2 separate regions of the Homo sapiens genome follow, and region 2 is linked to region 1. The links are contacts of gene promoters, found by promoter capture Hi-C in human tissues and cell types (Jung and others, 2019). All regions are on one chromosome and are shown on one strand. The core of a region is centred on a gene start or on the middle of the fragment in contact, and the rest is flanking DNA. Distances in the headings are between cores, read along the strand shown. Region 1 holds the start of SLC25A37 (solute carrier family 25 member 37). Region 2 overlaps CHMP7 (charged multivesicular body protein 7).

Region 1 (2,700 bases), core at 87-2,586:
GGATCAACAGCTTCTGATCAGTATTTCTTAAAAACGACCTTTGACAAAAGTAGAGTTTTCTCTAGCCATTACAGAGATGGCTAAGTAAAAACACAGAGCCTGTTTTTACTTATCACATCCTTAGCACTCAGCTTGCCAGCTACTATCTGCAGCTACCAAAACTAGGCAAACAGTGCTCTTGGTCCTGACGCCTCTATTGACCTCTACCCATGCTCACATTACTGTATCTCAAATCCCTAAGAGCTGCTTGGGATGCTGATCACGGTGAGGGCAGAGAGTAGGCTCAGCCTCTTCAGGGTCTTCCCCACCCTTTCATATCTCAGGATCCAGCTTTCCTGACGAGAAGCCTTGTCTAGATAAGGCAGGGAGGCCCTGGTGCCTACAAGTTGATCAGCCCAAGTCATCTTAAGCCCTGGAACACGCAATTTAGACGGACACTTCCAGAGGCAGACAGGTCCCTCCCCTACTTTCTGATTTCTCCCTTTTTCCCCAGACTGGAGCAAAACAATATTAAAACAGCCTGGGTTACACTTTATTGAAGAGGCCAGCTTAGGACGACTTTAAGAACTAGGTGACCACAGTCTTAAGACAGGCAGGGGCAAGGCTGTAAGATTTTACTCTCAGCCAGTTCACACTCCTAACTGTGAGATCAGGCCTCTACAGACCTTATGGGCCTATCAAACCCAAAGAAAATTTCCTGGAGGTGCCTACTCAGAGGGGCTCCCTCCTGGTCACTCCTTATAGCCTTGCTCGGTCCAGGGCAGGGTGGGTTCGGTCTCTCGGTGAGAACAAGAGGAACACATTTAGCTCTGCATTATGTATTTAGGTTGAGAGAAACAATTTCGAATGAATGGGGGTCTCTCCAACAAAGCAGTCTAGAACGGGCCCCTGAGGTTTGAATTCAGGCCTTAGGAATGCCAAAGCTCACTGAGCGATTCTGTTTGCAAACCCACCCGCCACGGGGACGGATTTTCCCCGAGACACTGTCACCCATGCCTCCAGCTCTGGGCATACCCCACTGCGGCCCCTCCCCAATGACCTCCCCTGCCCCTCGCGGACCAGCCCATCCTCAAGATAGTACAACTTTCCGGGCCACCCCACGTCTCCTCTCGCCCCCGTCCGGTTGCTTGGAAATGTGCACGGGACGGTGACGTCACACAGGGAGGCGGGTCCCCACTGTCCCGCACACCAATGGCGCGGCGGCCGCCGGCCTCTTGGTTCCCGGCGATTGGTGTCTCTGGCCGCTGCGCTCCACCCCAGCCCGCCATGGCGTCAGGCGCCGCGGCCCCGGGGAGGTGGCTCCCACTTTAAGAAGTGAAGTTTTGCGCCCCTCCCCCTCCCTGCCCACCTCCTGCAGCCTCCTGCGCCCCGCCGAGCTGGCGGATGGAGCTGCGCAGCGGGAGCGTGGGCAGCCAGGCGGTGGCGCGGAGGATGGATGGGGACAGCCGAGATGGCGGCGGCGGCAAGGACGCCACCGGGTCGGAGGACTACGAGAACCTGCCGACTAGCGCCTCCGTGTCCACCCACATGACAGCAGGAGCGATGGCCGGGATCCTGGAGCACTCGGTCATGTACCCGGTGGACTCGGTGAAGGTGAGGCGCGGGGAGACTTCGGGGACGCAACGAGCGGAGAAGGAGCGCGCGCGCGCATTTGCATCCCGCGCGCCGGCAGCCTCGGGGCAGCGTCCCGAAACCGAGCTCTCCCCAGGACCGCGGCTGGCCGGGGTCGCCCCAGGAGCAGCTGCGCGCAGCCTGGGCGCCGCGCCTTCCGCCGACCCCGCGAGGGTGCCCGGTCCTCGCCCCGCACCGCCCGCTGCTCCAGCCGCGTGCCCGGCCCCGGCTGCTGGCGGCGCTGAGGCGGGGGAGGCGGAGTGGCGAGCACCGCTGGCTTCGGCGGCGACTGGGCTCCCGGGGGACGCGATCGCTGAAGCTCTGCACAGTCTTACCACGCTGGCCGTTCGGGCTGGCTGGGGCCGCCCACACGTGCGCGGTTTCCGAGGGAGCTCCCCGCAGGGGAAGCCCTCACCACGCTGGAGCTGAGAAACGTGTGGCCCTGGCCCGGCCGCGCGCCCTCGGGACTTGGTGTGTGGCTGCTGCTCCCCGGGTTATTTCGGGAACTTGGGGCCGGCAAGTCTTCTCTCGACTAGTGGCAGCTCTTTACCGGTTCGACAGCGGCCCGTGGGATCCCCTTTCTGAGGGTTCCTGCACTTCTTCCCCCGACTTTGGGTCGCCGAGCCGCCGGGAGGCAATGACGTTTGCCTTCTCCTTTTGCTTGCGGGGAGGTGGGTGGGCTTGTGCCTTACAGCCCTTGCTGTGGATTGTGTGAGAGGCACTCAGTTTCCTTTAAACCCTGTCTGTCACTTGCCCCGGTAGTTTTAACTGCATTTCTGTAAAGAGGCAGCGTTACTAGGTGCGTTTTGCCTGGTAGACTGAGACCTGCCCTCTGTCAGCCTGCCCAGAACACCCCAGGGCCAGGATAGAGTAGTGCAGGAAGTAATGCCAGTATTGACTGTTACACGTTGCACTTTTATAGGCATAACTCGCCTAATTCATGCAACAGCCCTGGGGGTTAACAGATGAAGAAACTGAGGCGCAGAGAGGCGAACCGATTACCTTGCCCAGGCTCCTACACCACCTCCTATCCTCTGGCTGCAGCTGCAGTGTGCTTTGGAGGATTCGGAGGCCTCTCTAGGTGGCAAT
Region 2 (2,827 bases), core at 116-2,615, 280 kb before region 1:
CCTGGGAGCAGTGCCTGATACCTGGTAGACAGTCAATAAATACCTGTTGAGTGAGTGAATACACACGCACAGACACGTGTACACATCACTCCATTTTTTTCTAGAAATGGAATTGGTGTGCACCCTGCTTTGTTTTCTTTCCATTGCATTGTATCAGGTGCCTCTTTCCAGGCCCTACACAGTATGGATTTACTCGATTCTTTTTGATGCCTGCATGATAATCTATCGATATGCCACAATTTATGCAACAGGTGCTCCGCAGATGGACATTTCAATCATTCCAATTTCTCTCTCCATTTTTCCATTACAAAAAAATGCCACTTGTGCAGAGATCTATGTACTTCTCCCTTTATTTTTATGGAATTGATTTTTCGGAAATGCATATGTGCCTTTTCAATTTTAACAAAAATTGCCAAACTACTTTTCAAAAGTTTGTAATAAGTTGCACTTTCATCAAGACTGTATTAGGGAGTCCAGTCTCCCCACATCCTTGTCAGCACGGGATGACATCAGTCTTTTAAATCTTACCAACTTATTGGGAAAAAAAAAATGATACGTCCTGTTTGTGAATTGAGCATTTTTTTCACCTATGTACTAGCCATTTACATATCTCCTTCTGTGAATTGTCTGTTTATATCCTTTCCTGTTTTGTATTGTGTTATCTTTTTTTTTTTTTTGAGATGGAGTTTGTCACCCAGGCTGGAGTGCAGTGGCACGATCTCCGCTCACTGCAAGCTCCGCCTTTCGGGTTCACGCCATTCTCCTGCTTCAGCCTTCCGAGCAGTTGGGACTACAGGTGCCGCCACCACGCCCGGCTAATTTTTTGTATTTTTAGTAGAGATTGGGTTTCACCATGTTAGCCAGGATGGTCTCGATCTCCTGACCTCGTGATCCACCCGCCTTGGCCTCCCAAAGTGCTGGGATTACAGGTGTGAGCCACCGCGCCTGGCCTTATTGTGTTATCTTTTATGTTAATCTGTATTCTTTATGTGTTAGAGATAGATATATATAATGTATTTAGTATTAAGGATGTAAATATTGTTTCTCAGTCTGTTGCTTGCTTACTTTTTATTTATGATGTCTTTTACCCTATAGAAGGTTTCATATTTCTGTAGTCAGATCTCTCAGACTTTTCTGTATGGCTATTGAATTTCAGGTCTTGTTTAGGAAGGCATCTTCTGACTCAAGCTTAACTTATTACTTTGTACTTTAATTTTTTCCGTTTACATTTCCTTCAATACTTATTTTTGTGTATGTGGTGGGGAAAGCTCTATTTTCTTCCAAATGGATAGCCAGTTGTCTCAGTATCTTTTCTTGATGTCGTGTAACATTAATTTATTTGTGTGTGGTTACTGTGCAGTTACTGCAGTGGTTGCATATCTGGTAGGGCAGTCAAATCAATGAAAACTCGATGTCTGTGTCTTATTAGGCTCTTTTCTACCCTTTGGCACTGTTGACGAGTCACTTCTTGAAATGTCCAATTTCCTTGAATTTGTTTACATGACGCTGCAAGTTCTCCTTGATTCCCCCAAAGCAGTCCTTCTGTCTCTCTTTTGTGGCTTCCTTCACTTCCTAAACAGTGGTCTTCCTTCAGCTTATTACTTTCCTCCCTGAATGTCCTTGGGATCTTTGCTGTGGATATGCTGAGGACTTTCAACATTGTATCGCTGTCCTGCTGTCTCCTTTGAGTTTCAGATTTGTATATCCACTGATAGGTTGTATACATAATCTTGGATATAGCTCAGACATCTTATTTATGTATTTATTTATAGACAGAGTCTCACTCTGTTGCCCAGGCTGTAGTGCAGTGGCACAATGTTGGCTCAGTGCAACCTCCGCCTCCTGGGTTCAAGCAATTCTCCTGCCTCAGCCTCTCAAGTAGCTGGGATCACAGGCGCTGCCACCATGGCCAGCTAATTTTTTGTATTTTTTTTAGTGGAGATGGGGTTTCACCCTGTTGGCCAGGCTGGTCTCAAACTCCTGATCTCAGGTGATCCACCCACCTCGGCCTCATAAAGTGCTGGGATTAGAGGCGTGAGGCACACCGTGCCTGGCTTCTCTCAGACATCTTAAAACATCATAACCAAGATGGGATATTTTGTCTTTACTTTAAACTAGGCTTTTCCTCCTGAATTTTTTCCTATTAATAGCATCACATCCACCAGTCACTCAATCCATAGTGACTTTCCACTAGACTTTTTCTTCCAACCCTATATCCAGTTACCAGTGTTATCTTCTGAATTTTGTTTGTCTCCACCACTCCTCTTTCTATGTTTATTATTCAAATAGCCTGTTGTTCAGACCCACATAATCTCTTGTGTAAATGGTCTCCTTGCCTCTAATCTTAACTCTACAATCCATCGTCTCCCAATTGGCAGTTAGCTTTCTGTTAATCTAGCCATGTCAGTTTCCTTCAGTGACCACCCACCATCTACAGAATAAAGGATCATCATAAGATATTACACTTTCTATAATATAGGATATTACACTTTCTATAATATAGGAGTGCTTCTCCTCTCTCTCCTTTCCCCTCTACATTTGTACACGTGCCGCATTGACCCACCCTTCTATGCTCATGTTCCTCTCTCTTCCCGAGATACCCGTTTCACCTCTTCACCTAGGAACTTGCTCACTCTTCAGAATTCTGCTCAACTTTTTTTTTTTTTCAAGAAATCCTGAATCCCCAGGCAGTCCTTCCCTATATTTTCATAGCATCCCATGGACACCTCAGTCTTTCTTGTTTCTGGTAGTAATTTCCATGTATGAGCGAAATGGTGACATTATTTCTTGGAACTTATATTTCTTACTCTTGTCACTAATCTTATCC

What was found. Contacts are between HindIII fragments. The study calls those that stand out against the background at their distance.
Region 2: a fragment that was not itself captured here is called in contact with the fragment with the promoter of SLC25A37 in region 1 in 1 of the 25 tissues and cell types used here (aorta).

The regions. Positions count from the first base shown.
Region 1 is chr8:23,527,620-23,530,319 of GRCh38, forward strand. It overlaps SLC25A37 (solute carrier family 25 member 37), which reads left to right and starts at 1,337. Exons shown (of 4, transcript NM_016612.4): 1 at 1,337-1,593. The coding sequence starts at 1,384. RefSeq lists enhancers at 1,031-1,080, 2,371-2,440 and silencers at 1,211-1,570, 1,621-1,870. The HindIII fragment of the contact is 14,130 bases long and covers 1-2,700 here.
Region 2 is chr8:23,251,533-23,254,359 of GRCh38, forward strand. The region is part of intron 3 of CHMP7 (charged multivesicular body protein 7); the gene reads left to right. Among named protein-coding and RNA genes, the nearest start is that of CHMP7, 9.3 kb to the left of the region's middle. The HindIII fragment of the contact is 4,740 bases long and covers 1-2,827 here.